Regions from separate parts of the Homo sapiens genome. Here region 1 is linked to region 2. Evidence: promoter capture Hi-C in 16 types of primary human blood cells and fetal thymus (Javierre and others, 2016). All regions are on one chromosome and are shown on one strand. Each heading gives the region's core, a stretch centred on a gene start or on the middle of the fragment in contact. The rest is flanking DNA. Distances are from core to core; before and after follow the strand shown. Region 1 overlaps FXR2 (FMR1 autosomal homolog 2). Region 2 holds the start of CTDNEP1 (CTD nuclear envelope phosphatase 1).

Evidence for each region. The method cuts DNA at HindIII sites, captures the fragments that hold promoters and counts their contacts. A CHiCAGO score of 5 or more calls a contact.
Region 1: a fragment that was not itself captured here is called in contact with the fragment with the promoter of CTDNEP1 in region 2 in 8 of 17 cell types (naive B cells, naive CD8 T cells, total CD4 T cells and 5 more); the score reaches 9.2 in naive B cells.

What each region holds. Positions count from the first base shown.
Region 1 is chr17:7,593,256-7,600,290 of GRCh38, forward strand. FXR2 (FMR1 autosomal homolog 2) reads right to left here. Exons shown (of 17, transcript NM_004860.4): 8 at 2,569-2,739; 9 at 1,424-1,502; 10 at 983-1,092; 11 at 663-749; 12 at 148-370. Among named protein-coding and RNA genes, the nearest start is that of SOX15, 6.7 kb to the left of the region's middle. The HindIII fragment of the contact is 5,554 bases long and covers 1-4,204 here.
Region 2 is chr17:7,246,044-7,252,983 of GRCh38, forward strand. It overlaps CTDNEP1 (CTD nuclear envelope phosphatase 1), which reads right to left and starts at 5,691. Exons shown (of 8, transcript NM_001143775.2): 1 at 5,152-5,691; 2 at 1,234-1,300; 3 at 1,021-1,139; 4 at 748-819; 5 at 211-327; 6 at 1-94. The coding sequence starts at 5,253. ELP5 (elongator acetyltransferase complex subunit 5) reads left to right here and starts at 6,172. Exons shown (of 8, transcript NM_203414.3): 1 at 6,172-6,553; 2 at 6,727-6,787; 3 at 6,875-6,940. The coding sequence starts at 6,508. RefSeq lists enhancers at 5,294-5,881, 5,882-6,470, 6,339-6,558 and silencers at 5,419-5,538, 5,609-5,818, 6,589-6,828. The HindIII fragment of the contact is 9,547 bases long and covers 1-6,940 here.

The DNA.
Region 1 (7,035 bases), core at 178-2,677, 340 kb after region 2:
AATTCTCCTTCTCACTCACAAGCCTCCCAGCCAATCAATCACTTTTTCATCATCTCCATTCCAGATTTCCCCAAACTTCCATCCAGACCTCTGCCTCTACCCACAAGCCCTGCCACTCCTTGCCTCCTGTTCCCATAACTGTCTCACCATAGGCAGGACCGCCTGTCCTCCGGCCACGGCCACGGCCCCCATAGCTGCCCCCATAGGTTCGAGTCGCATGGAGGGAGGAGGAGGAGCTCTCATCAGTGCTATATCCAGCCTTGTCGCTGCCACCGCTGCCCCGCCCACTCCCAGGAGGGCGAAAGCCCAGCCCAATCTGCCGAAGCTGCTCATCAATTTGTAGCCTCTCCAAGCGAAGCTGCTCTACCTCCTGGTTGGGTAAAAGATGGAAGAAGGGGAAGGAGAAATAAGATCAGTGCCTTGCTTCATGCTTCTGCACCCTGACTGTCCCTCTATATCTAACCTCTCAGGAATGCAGGGAGAAGGAAGACACTGGCTAAACAAGGAAAATTCTGGGACCCAACCCTATAGCCCCAAATTTCCACAGATGTTTTCTGTTCTACACGGAGAGACAAACAGAGAACCAAAATCCCTGAGCTGACCCCCACAGCAGTCTTAGTTCCCTTTTCACACCCAGCATTTTTCTCTCCCGGCCTGGGTACCTGCAGGTAGGAGAGGTGATACTCCAGCAAAGCCTGGGCATTGCTGATGTTCTCTCGGGTGCCAACAAAAATGAAGGGAACCATTCCCTAGAGAACAGAGAGCAGAAACGATGGATCAGAAAGGAAAATGAAATGGAAGGATTAACGCCGCCCAGTCTCCTAGGGGAGCCTGCCCAGTGGGATCATTCTGGGCTCTAAATCTACTAGTGTTAAACAACTTTCCGTACTCCACCCTCTCAAAGAACAATCCCAGCCCTCAGAGGACAATCCCATTTACTTCTGGAAACCAATCTCTATGCCCACTTGCCCCGTACCCATACCTCCTCCCTGGGGTTCTTCTTGTCATTATCACCTTCCACTCGAACCCTCACCACACCAGATTTATCCACAATCTCCTGGATCACTTTCCCGTTCTTTCCAATCACTTTGCCTGGAATAGGTAAATGAGGAATTCAGCCTTTTATTTTTTTTAAGGAAATAAGAATAAAGCTGATACACCGTCTTCCAGCCTCATTTTCTTTATATGGATTCCATTTACTTCATTCTCCTGCTTCTAGGTTTCTGATGTGTTTTTACAGGACAAAATGTTACAATCCCTAGAAATTTATTCTTTCATTTTTATCACTCCCATTACAGACTGTTTCTCTGTCCTTGTGAAACTGGGAGTCCACAGGGAGGTGCCAATCCTGGATAAAAGCTCAGAATCACTGTAGAGAATCTTGATTCTGACCTCTAACTGTATATACACACCACCAACTCACCAACCAGGTTCCTGGGCACTTGCACTGAGTCCTCAGAAAACTCAAGGTAGCTTCGGGCCTGTCGGCAAGCCTCGGGAGTCTAAAGGAAGAACAGCAGGGAGTTGTTACTAAAACAGAAGACCAGCTGGATGTGGTGGCTCACGCCTGTAATCCCAGCACTTTGGGAGGCTGGAGGCAGGTGGATAAATTGAGCTCAAGAGTTCAAGACTAGCCTGGGCAATATGGTGAAACGCCATCTCTACTAAAAATACAAAAATCAAAATACAAAAATACTAAAATACTAAAAATACAAAATTGGTGGCTCACGTCTCTAATCCCAGCTACTCCGGAGGCTGAGGCAGGAGATTTCTTGAACCCAGGAGGCAGAGGTTGCAATAAGCTGAGATTGTGCCACTGCACTCTAGCCCGGGCAACAGAGTGAGTTAGACTCCATCTCATAAAAAAAAAAAATTAAACAAATAAATAACTTAAAAAAAAAAACAGAGGACCTTGGCCAGGCACAGCGGCTCACACCCATAATCTCAACAGTTTCGGAGGCTAAGAAGGGAGGATTGCTTGAGGCTAGGAGTTAACAACCAGCTTGGGCAACAGAGATCTGGTCTATTTTTTTGATTTTTTGGTCTCACTCTATTGACTATGTTGCCCAGGTTGGTTCAGTGGCACCATCATGGTGTACTGCAGCCTTGACTTTCCAGGCTCAAGTGATCCTCCTGCCTCCGCCTCCCAAGTAGCCAAGTAGCTGGGGCCACAGATGCATGCCACCACGCTCAGTTAACGTTTTTTGGTTTTTGGTTTTTTTGGGGGGTAAAGACAGGGTCTCTCTATGTTGTCCAGGTTGTTCTCCAACTCCCAGGCTCAAGTGATCCTCCCCTCTATCTTCCCATTTCAGCCTCCCAAGTACCTGCGACTACAGGTACGCACCACTACTTCCAGCTAATTTTTAAATTTTTGTAGAGATTGGGTCTCACTATGTTGCACAGGCTGGTCTCAAACTCCTAGGCTCAAGTGATCCTCTCACTTTGACCTCCGAAGGTGCTGGGATTACAGGTGTGAGCCACTGTGCCCAGTTTGAGGCTTATTTTCTACTTCGGCCTCTCTTCCCTCTATCCCCTAAGAGACCCAGAAGAAAGACATCCTTTGCTGACCTCCCCATAGATGCGGAAAGTGCAGGTCTCTTCACCCAACTCAATGGCGGTCACCCCAGGTACTTTTCGGGCCTGCTGGATGTTGGCACCGTGAGTCCCAATTGCCAGTCCCATCAGGTCCTCTCGCACTGTGAACTCCTCTTGGAAGGCTGCTGCCAACTGCTTGCTTGTCTGAAAGGAAAAGTCACTGTAGGAATCATGGTGGTAGAATCTCACAGTCCCAGGCACACGACCCTTTGCATAACTTAAATAAGGAAAACTGTGTGATATTAATAGAAAGCTAGAACCACTCTGGAGTCCGCGGACCACGAGGACCTGTGTGGAAAGGTCAGGAACTTTTTGTTTTTTCTTTGAGATGGCGTCTCGCTCTGTCGCCCAGGCTGGAGTGCAGTGGCGCGATCTCAGCTCACTGCAACCTCCGCCTCTCGACTTCAAGTGATTCTCATGCCTCGGCCTCCTGAGTAGCTACGACTACAGGTGTCCACCACCATGCCTGGCTAATTTCTGTATTTTTAGTAGAGACAAGGTTTCACCATGTTGGCCAGGCTGGTCTCAAACTCCTGACCTCAGGTGATCCGCCCGCCTCAGCCTCCCAAAGTGCTGGGATTACCGGCATAAGCCACCACGCCCGGCCAAGGTCAGGAACTTTTAATTCCACTCCTTCCAAATACCAGTGGTTTGTGGGGGAGGAAAGGTAAAGAGGGCAGAGTTTGGACTGGGACACACCGAAGTTCTGGATTTGGCCCTAACAGTATCTGTCCCTAAGAGTATCTATCTGTGTGATCTTAAACAAAACATACTCTGCCTCTTGTGTCATCTGCTAAGTGATTATATCCAACTTATCTTATTCTCAAGACTAGCAAGAGGATTAGACAAGGCTGGTGTGAAAGTACTTCTCACAAGGTACATGCAAGTGTAAGGAACTCTTACCTTAATCAAACAAATATCAACTCATCCCCAAATAAAACTCAACAACTTAAGTAAAAAGTGAGGGGTAGGCTGTGCGCGGTGGCTCACGCCTGTAATTCCAGCACTGTGGGAGGCTGAGGCAGGTGGATCACAAGGTCAGGAGATCAAGACCATCCTGCCAACATAGTGAAACCCCATCTCTATTAAAAATACAAAAATTAGCTGGCCTTGGTGGGGTGTGCCTATAATCCCAGCTGCTTGGGAGGCTGAGGCAGGAGAATTGCTTGAACCAGGGAGTTGGAGGTTACAGTGAGCCGAGGTCATGCCACTGCACTCCAGCCTGGTGACAGAGCAAAACTCTGTCTCAAAAAAAAGTGAGGGGTTAAGAAAAACAGAAAACATGCCTCTAGAACACCAGGCTTTCACTTCATTTCTCAATCAGTCCTTAGAGGAACCCCTGGGTTCAGGGGCAGGAAGACAGGAAAGGTTTTAGAGGAGTGAATCCCATGTTGTAAGCACCAAATAGAAACAATACCTGAAAGGAGACATTCCTAGATTGAAATACACTACTTCCCACTTCCAAGTTGGATAGGACTGAATTATACCAAGGATTTATACCAGGCAAGAAGAGAAAGTTGGAAAAATAAACTAAGTTGAGTGTTCAAAATCACTACATTAGGAGGGGAGGGGAAGAGATCTACAATGACCTATAAGCGTCTTCTAGATAAGCTTGCAGAACAGCTGGGTTTTCTTTTTTTTTTTTCTTTTTTTTGAGATGGGGTCTGTCACCCAGGCTAGAGTGCAGTGGCATGATCTCTGCTCACTGCAACTTCTGCCTCCCTTTTTTTGTATTTTTAGTAGAGAAGGGGTTTCACCATGCTGGCCAGACTGGTCTCAAACTCCTAACCTCAGGCAATCCACCTGCCTCGGCTTCCCAAAGTGCTGGGATTGCAGGCGTGAGCCGCTGCACCCGGCCCCTTTCCGGTTTTTAGAGGCTTCACTACTAGGCATGACTGATTAAATCACTGATCCTCAGTGATTGCCTTAACCTTTGGCCCCATTCCCCTCCCAGGAAGTTGGTGGGGGTGAGGCTGAAAGTTCCAACCCTCTAATCATGAAGCCACCTAGAGGGGCTAGCCATGAATCAACTCATCAGCACACAAAAACACACATCACTGGAGATTCCAAGGATTTTAGAAGTTGAATGCCAGGAGCCTGGTCAGGAGACCAAATATGTATCTCTCAGTATCACAGAGCCTGTCAGTCCTACTGGTTTTACTCGTAAAATTTATCCTACATAAAACTACTCTCTCTCTCTTCCTTTAGCACTCCAGTTCAAGTTTCTCACCTGGACTACTGTGCTCTGTTCCTGCTTCCATTCTTGCCCCCCTTTCCATCTGTCATTGAAACAGGAGTTTAAAACAGAAGGCACTTTCGGCCGGGCACAGTGGCTCTCGCCTGTAATCCCAGCACTTTGGGAGGCCGAGGTGGGTGGATCACGAGGTCAGGAGATCAAGACCATCCTGGCTAACACGGTGAAACCCCATCTCTACTAAAAAAAAATACAAAAAAATCAGCCGGGCGTGGTGGCAGGCGCCTGTAGTCCCAGCTTCTCGTGAGGCTGAGGCAGGAGAATGGCGTGAACTTGGGAGGTGGAGCTTGCAGTGAGCCGAGATCACGCCAATGCACTCCAGCCTGGGTGACAGAGCGAGACTCCGTCTCAAAAACAAAACAAAACAAAACAAAACAAAAAACCAGAAGGCACTGTTAACTCAATGGCTTCTCAGTATACGCACAATAAAATCCCCCCTCCTCAGCCTACCGTACATGTCTTACATGATCTACTCTCTGACCGAATTTTGTATCGGTCTCCCTTTGCTCACTCTGCGCTAACTACACAAGCTGCAGTGAGCTGAGATCGCACTACTGCACTCCAGCCTGGACGACAGAATGAGACTCCGTCTCAAAAAATTAAAAAACAACAACAAAAATTAGGCCGGGTGCAATGGGTCATGTCTATAATCCCAGCACTTTGGGAGGCCAAGGCAAGTGGATCCCTTGAGGCCAGGGGTTCGCGACCAGCCTAGCCAACATGGTGAAACTCCGTCTCTACTAAAAATACTGAAATTAGGGCCAGGTATAGTGGCTCATGCCTGTAATCCCAGTACTTTGGGAGGCCAAGGCAGGTGGATCACCTGCGGTCGGGAGTTCAAAACCAGCCTGGGCAACATGGTGAAACACTAAAAAAGCAAAAATTATCCAGACGTGGGGGCGCGTGCCTATTATCCCAGCTACCTGGGAGGCCGAGGCACAAGAATCGCTTGAACCCAGGAGCGAGAGGTTGCAGGGAGCGGAGATTGTGCCATTGCACTCCAGCCTGGGTGACAGAGGGAAACTGTCTCCAAAAAAAAAAAAAAAATAGCCAGGTATGGTGGCATGCACCTGTAATCCCACCCACCCAAAGGCTGAGGTGAGAGGATCACTTGAGCTCGGGGGGTAGAGACTGCAGTGAGCTGAGATCGCACCACTACATACACTCCAGCCTGGATAACAGACTGAGACTCCATCTCAAAACAAAAAACAAAAACAAAAAATAAAGTTTGTATCATCTGAAGGTAATGGTGAATTTTTACCTGCCAGTGCCCTGAGCAGGATCCCTGAAGAAGTCAAAGATTATCATGACCCAGAAATTGCACAGGCACAGAAAAAAGCCTCCCAAAAAGATCAATTCCCTTGATAAATGGAAATGGTATTCAAACACACACACCCTATTCACTTAGAATAGTATAATACCAACGAAAGGGAATCTGACAATTATACGATGTCAGAATTCAAAAAGATCTCACAGAAATACTCTAGTCAGGCCAGGCGTGGTGGCTGACACCTGTAATCCCAACATTTTGGGAGGTCGAGGTGGGCGGATCACCTGAGGTCCATAGTTTGAGATCAGCCTGGCCAACATGGTGAAACCCCATCTCTACTAAAAAAGACAAAAATTAGCCAGGTGTGATGGCACACACCTGTAATCCCAGCTACTTGGGAGGCTGAGGCAGGAGAATCGCTTCAATCTGGGAGGTGGAGGTTGCAGTAAGCCAAGATAGCGCCACTGCGCTCTAGCCTGGGCGACAGAGACGCTATCTCAAAAAACAAACAAAAAAACAAGAAATATCCTTTTTTTCTTTGAGATGGAGTTTCACTCTTGTTGCCCAGGCTGGAGTACAATGGTGTGATCTCGGCTCACTGCAACCTCCGCCTCCCAGGTTCAAGCGATTCTCCTGCCTCAGCCTCCCGAGTAGCTGGGACAACAGGCGCCTGCCACCACGCCTGGCTAATTTTTGTAGTTTTAGTAGAGACGGGGTTTCACCCATGTTGGCCAGGCTGGTCTTGAACTCCCGACCTCAGGTGATCTGCCCGCCTCAGCCTCCCAAAGTGCTGGGATTACAGACGTGGGCCACCGCGCCCAGTCATATCCTTTTTTTCTTTGAGACAGAGTTTCACTCTTGTCACCCAGGCTGAAGTGCAATGGCGCAATCTTGGCTCACTGCAACCTCCACTTCC
Region 2 (6,940 bases), core at 4,441-6,940:
CCCCTGGGGAGTTATCCAGGATCACAATGCTGGAGAGGTCACTGTGGACCACAGAGAGGTCCTTGATGTAGCTGCCCAACTCCAAAGTGCAGTGCTGGAAGGCAGGGGATCATGTAGCAGGCCTCTCTCCAGGATACTCTCCTCAAACCCAGATCCCTCCCTGGTGGCCTCCCTCCCAAGCCACACTCTTAGACTGGGATTCTAGCTTACCTGTCTGTAATATCTCCTCTTAAGAATGCTTCTGCTATTGTCCAGTTTATCTGCCACAGCAGAGCCATAGATCTCCATGCTTGCTGTAAACACCACCAGCTCGTACCACTGGCTCACCTGAAATAGATTGGGGGAGAGGGCGATGCCATACAAGGTGATGATTCCTTTAGACATACAGTTATCTTTCAGAAAGGCAATGGCATAGTCCTTCAGGCCTTCCATCAACATCAAATGTCTCTGAGGACACGAAATTCTGAACCCCCAGCCCAAACCTCCAAACTCAGTGTTAGGCATCCTACACTCTTATGATTCAGAAATGCAAGAACAAAAGAGAAAGATGCCAGCGGAAAAGAATTACATCAGCACAACAAATGAACCCCAAGTACTGAAAGCCACTCCCCTACCATTACACAGCCTCCCCTCTAGAAAACTGCTCTAACCCGTTTCTCCTCACCCCTTCCTCCAAATCCTCCCAATTCCCAGAGCCCTAAAACCATTCCTTCATTACAGAGCTCCCTTTAGCTCTCCAAAACTCACCACTTCCAGGAAGAAATCCACATGGGGCCTCTTATGTACAAAAAACCGGACAGGATGTTTGTCTATTACCACCTACAGAGGAACAAGATGGGCTGGGGGATGTCATGACCACCACAACCCAGGCCTAGAAAACGCCCCACCCATCTGCTTCCCTCCTCCAGGCTGACACTGGTGCCAGCGGATGGAGACAGATGCTCTGGGACTGGGAAAGGGAGTCCAGGTTTGGGCAGAGGAACAGATGGAACCATTTCATCACTCCCCACCACCACACACCTTGAGGATGAAGTCAGGAGGCGTACCAGGCCGGACTGTGGGCCTCAGGACCCCATCATGGTGGGAGTGAATAAGTGTCTCATCCAGATCCAGCACCAGGATCTTCCTCTTCACCTGGGCTGAACCAGAGTGGGGAGGAATAATATTGACCGACCTCTGACCCAGAGCTAGCCCCTACTTCACCCTAAAGGAGGCTTCCCACCACATACTTACCTAGCCGATTCCGGGACACAGGAGATAAGGGGAGGATATCATATCGAACAGTTTGGTACTGAATTACCTACAAATAGCACAAAAGAGGATTGAAACCCTTGATAAGGAAGCCTTCCCCAGTAACAGTAACAGGGAGCACATAATGAACATTTACCACAGGTACTATGTATGTAATTTAGGCTTATTTCTTCTTCTTTTTTTTTTTTTTTTGAGATGGAGTCTCGCTCTGTTGCCCAGGCTGGAGTGCAGCGGCATGATCTCGGCTCACTGCAACCTCCGCCTCCCAGGTTCAAGCAATTCTCCTGCCTCAGCCTCCCTAATAGCTGGGACTACAGGCGTGCACCACCACGCTCGGCTCATTTTTGTATTTCTAGTAGAGGCGGGGTTTAACTATATTGGCCTGGCTGGTCTCAAACTCCTGACCTTGTGATCCTCCTGCCTTTGCCTCCCAAAGTGCTGGGATTACAGGAATGAGCCACTACGCTGGCCTTTTTCATTTAATCCTCAAAACAACCATAATATTACTGTTATACCTGTTTTAAGGTTAAAGAAACTGAGGCCACACAGCTAGGAATTATCTTAAGTTGTTTCTCTCCCTAATTAAAATGAAAACTCCATGAGAATATGATTTTGTCTAGATCATGGCTGTATTCCCAGTGCCTAGAACACAGTAGCAAAAGTGGTCAGTTGATATTAGTAGAATCAGCCAGGCGCAGTGGCTCATGCCTGTAATCCCAGCACTTTGGGAGGCCAAGGCAGGCGGATCACAAGGTCAAGAGACGGAGACCATCCTGGCCAACATGGTGAAACCCCGTCTCTACTAAAAATATAAAAATTAGCTGGGCGTGGTGGTGCGTGCCCATAGCCCCAGCTACTCGGGAGGCTGAGGCAGCAGAGTGGCTTGAACCCAGGAGGCAGAGGTTGCAGTGAGCCGAGATCGCACCACTGTACTCCAGCCTGGTGACAGAGCAAGACTCCGTCGCAAAAAAAAAAAAAAAAAAAAAAAAAAAAGTAGAATCAATGAAGTGATAGAGCCAGGATTGTACCAATGCAGTTCAACCCAAGAACGTGCCCTCTTTTTTTTTCTTTTTTTTTTTTTTGAGAAGGGAGTCTCACTCCATTGCCCAGGCTGGAGTGCAGTGGCGCGATCTCAGCTCACTGCAACCTCCACCTCCCAGGTTCAAGCAATTCTCCTGCCTCAGCCTCCTAAGCAGCTGGGACTATAGGCGCGCGAACCACGCCCAGCTAATTTTTGTATTTTTAGTAGAGACGGGGTTTCACCATATTGGCCAGGCTGGTCTTGAGCTCCTGACCTCATGATCCACCTGCCTCAGCTTCCCAAAGTGCTGGGATTACAGGCAAGAGCCACCACCCCCGGCCGAAGCTGCCCTCTTAACTGTGATATTATCCTGCTACACTGAACAAAGAAACGACCCCCACAACGCAACCTTCACCCCAAGAATTATTTGTAGCAACTACCATCATTGGGAACTAAGTGCCTCAGATTCCCTAGTGCACATGGAGTAGGAGTCGGGAGGAGATCCCTGGGTCCTTAATGGGAATATAGAATGAGGGAATCCAGAGGTTGTCAGGTCAGCTAAGTTCCTCTGGCTAGAAGCCACCAGGCCTATTTTAACCAGCCACCTGTCCACTTCTGTCCCTTCTAGCCAAGTCACAAGTTCAGAGAACCTCAGCCCTCTGAACAGTCTCCTTATCCTGGTACCCAGGGTGAGGCAAAGAACACTGGAAAGCCCCTGCCAGGCTGACTGGCAGGGTCTGGAGGAGGCCAGAGTGAAGTCAGGGCCGTTAAGTGAGAGGTGAATAAGGGACAAGGACGTCACCACCTCATCCAGCTCTGCTTCTCCAAGCATTCTCTAGGGGCTATTTCCTAATACGCACATCTCCCCATACAAAGCCTGGCAATTCCCTCTTCCACACTTTTCTTCAAAGGTACAAACCCTCTTCAGTGCATACCTAGGCCCCAAGCCACACCAGAACCAGGTTCTCCCTTCTAAACCCACAGGGCTCTCTCCCCCTAATCAAGATCTGCCCTTCTTTTCTCCCTGGGCCATGATGAGGTCCGAAAGAGCTCCAGTGTCCAGCCTTGCTATCTCGGGTTGCATATGCTGGGCATGTAGGGAATGCTCCAAGCATCTGCCAGAAGCGGGGTGGGGAAAGAAACCAGATTGGAAGGGAAGGGAGGACAAAAGGCTATGGGGTCAGTGCTGCCCAAAGGAGAGCAATTTTGGAAGTAACCTGTGGATGAGCTGAAGCACCACTCCGTATGCCCAGAAAACTGATGTGTTGGAGCGAGAACGTCAGAGAAGATGGCAGTCAACCCATAAAGAAAACCGCTGGAGGCCGGGTGCAGTGGCTCAATCCCAGTACTTTTGTGAGGCCAAGGCGGGCAGATCACTTGAGGTCAGGAGTTTGAGACCATCCTGGCCAACATGGTGAAAACCCGTTTCTACTAAAATTACAAAAATTAGCCAGGTGTGGTGGCAGGTGCCTGTAATCCCAGCTATTCGAGAGGCTGAAGCAGGAGAATCGCTTGAACCCAGGAAGTGGAGGTTGCAGTGAGCGGAGATGGCACCACTGCACTCCAGCCTGGGCGACAAAGCGAGACTGTCTCAGAAAAGAAAAGAAAACCCCAGGAGATAGCCCCACACATATCCCAGCATCTCTGACCCTAAATTTTTCTTGGCTCCTAGCTCTTGTCTCGGGGGAATAGCGCTGCTGCCTACAGCCACAACCATCCTGTACTGTTCGCGCCCTAAATCAGGAAGTGGAAGCAGACTGGTAAAGGACAGAATGAACCCAAGGCCAGACCCATTCTCCCAAATCAGTTAAATCAACCACCACTACCACTGAGGGCTTTCTGGAAATTCTCTGGACCCCAGGTCACCCCAACCTGGGTTTATTCTTTCAAATTGTATTGAGGTATGCTAAGGGGTACAGACCACAGTACAGACCCAGAACCTGTGTCTCCGCTTACTAAATTCTCCCCAGACTCCTTCCGAGGATTCTCCCTGGTGGTGGTGAGACCACAAGAGCACATTCATTTAAAGTGCTGTTAGCTGAAGGACCTCTGACCTTGGAGAAAAGCTAAGGGAGAGGGGACCCAGAGATGCTTGGGTCCATCCGGACAGTTTCCCTCAGAATGCTAGGCTCTCCTGGAGAAGCAAACGTCCTCATTTTCAAGCCCTACAACTGCCCAGCGCTGTCCTCTGACAGGGACACCCAAACTTCAATGGTGGGCACAGCACCCACCTTGAACTCCCTCCCACAATTAAAGAGGCCCATCGTAAAAGCATCTGCTTTAGTCTTCAATAAATCCAGATACCTACACTCACACTATGAAATAAATTTTCACAGCCTTTTTGGAGGAATTCTCTTAATGGGAACCGCAGGCGTTTCTCCTTCACACCCAGGGCTTTCCCAAGTTCCCGTCCTTGTTTGTAACGTATGCCCTCCCACCCACCTCCACCCTTGACACACAAGTCTGTCTCTTCCTTGTTATAGGACCAAACACACACCGAGGTTCCAAATAGGGTCTTTCCCAAGCCCACATCCACAGATCCGGCTGTCATCAAACAGGTGTTCCCCGCCTCTTGGTTTCTTTAGCAACAACTCCAGCTTTCTTAAAGAGCGCCCCACCCACCACCTTAGCCCCCAAGAGTTGCCAAATCCTGTCCCATCTAGCCCCATCAAAACCCCCAAGGGCAAGGTTCTATTACAAGGGTCTCCCACCTCGCCCCGCTTAGGGTGCCCAATTCTCTGGCGAGAAAAGCCCCAGCCAGGATTCCCTTCCTAGGCCCAAACAGAGGCCCGACACTCCGAAAACCCCTGAGCACCACGGACAGATGTCCCCAACACCGCCAGACGTCCCCAACACCGCCAGCGCCCACCCTGGCTCACCGTGCGGATCTGCCTCCGCAGAAGGTAAATGAAGAAGCTCCAGAGCTTGGCGGCGAAGGCCACGAACGTGCGCAGCCCCAGCAGACACTGCGTCCGCATCATCCCGATGACCCCGGCACCGCCGGCCCCGGGGCCCCCGCGGCCCAGCTCCGCCAGCCCCCCGGGGGCAGCCCCCCGCCGCCGGGAGGGGGAACGGGGGCCCCGAGTGGCAGGAGAGGCTGCAGAGAGGGGCACGGAGCGGGCGGCTCAGAAAGCCACCCCTGGCGAGGGTAAAGCCCAGCGGAACGGGGAGCTGGGGGACAGGCGTGGGCAGCCCGCGGGGGCCCACATGGGCTGGGAGTGGCACCGACGGCTTCGGGGAGGTTGCGGGCCGAGACAGGTAGGGCTAGGATGGGGTCCTCCGAGACCTGGAGGGAAGGGGAAGGATAATTGGGGGAGGGGGCAGTGGGGGAGGGGGCTAGGGAAAAGGGAGGAAGGGAAAAGGGAAGGGGAGGGGGGGAAAGCAGAGAGTGGCCCGCTGCGCAGGCGCGCTAGGGGGCTGCTCGCAGGAACGGGGAGGGCGGGGGCAGCGGCGCGCAAAGGGCCGCGGCAGCGGAGAACGGGCCTGCAGAGCGAAGGAGCAGGGAAGGAGGGGGAGGGGGAGCCGGAGGGCGCAGAGCGCTGGGCCGGAGCGGCCTCCCCCTCCCCGAGCTCGGGGGTCCTTTAGCCGCTGGGGACCGGGGCTGCAGCCTCTGCAGCTGGGTTTCCCACTCTGACAGGCGCCATTTTACCGTCCAAAGGACTCCCTCTTCCTGTCTTTCCCCCTCCTCTTCCCCTTTGACACTACTTCCGGTGGTGACGTGTATTCGCTTCACCGGGACTAAGTTCCTCCTGCGCGGTCTATGGCGGGTAGGTATAAGGAAAGCCAAAAGCACTCCAAGCGAGGCTGCAGTATTGCGCACGCGCAGAAGGTGGCCGCGGGGCGGGGCCTGAGGCGAAGCAGGCCCCGCCTCAAACTGCGTGGGCGGGGAGAGTGACGTCACTTGGCCCGCGCTTAGGGCCCTCGCGGGGGGCTTGTGGGTCCTCCTCCCCCTCCCACTGACAACTGCCCCAACTGCTCTTCCCGCCCCGGTCACAGTGAAAATGTAGACGGGGTCGTTGTCCGTACGACTGTGCGCCAGGGCTCGGGGAGGGGCGCCCTCCGCGTGAGCGCCCCCCTGGGAATATTGAACATAATCACCTCTCATTCCAGACTATGTTAGGTCTTAATGGTGGGAGGACGCCCGAGTGCTCGGCCCGTTTCACCCCGAGGAGGAAGGACACTGGGTCATGACGCCATCAGAGGGCGCCAGAGCAGGGACCGGACGCGAGTTGGAGATGTTGGACTCGCTGTTGGCCTTGGGCGGCCTGGTGCTGCTTCGGGGTGAGAGCCAGAGGCACGGTGGCGGGGCGGGGGGTGCGGTTCGGGCCTGGCTGAGGGGACGGAAGTGGGCAGGAAGGGCCAGGGGTCACAGGCTAGGTGTGGAAATCGCGACGGGTTCGCGAAGGCGGTAATCCCAGCGCTCTCATACCCTTTATCCGTCCCTCGCTCTGCAGATTCCGTGGAGTGGGAGGGGCGCAGTCTCTTGAAGGCGCTTGTCAAGAAATCTGCACTGTGGTGAGTATCCCACAGTGTCTCCCCGGCCTACCCTGGATAGGGCACCTGTGCCCACTCTTTGACAATCCCTTCTCATCTCTGCCTTAGTGGGGAGCAAGTGCATATCCTGGGCTGTGAAGTGAGCGAGGAAGAGTTTCGTGAAGGTTTTGACTC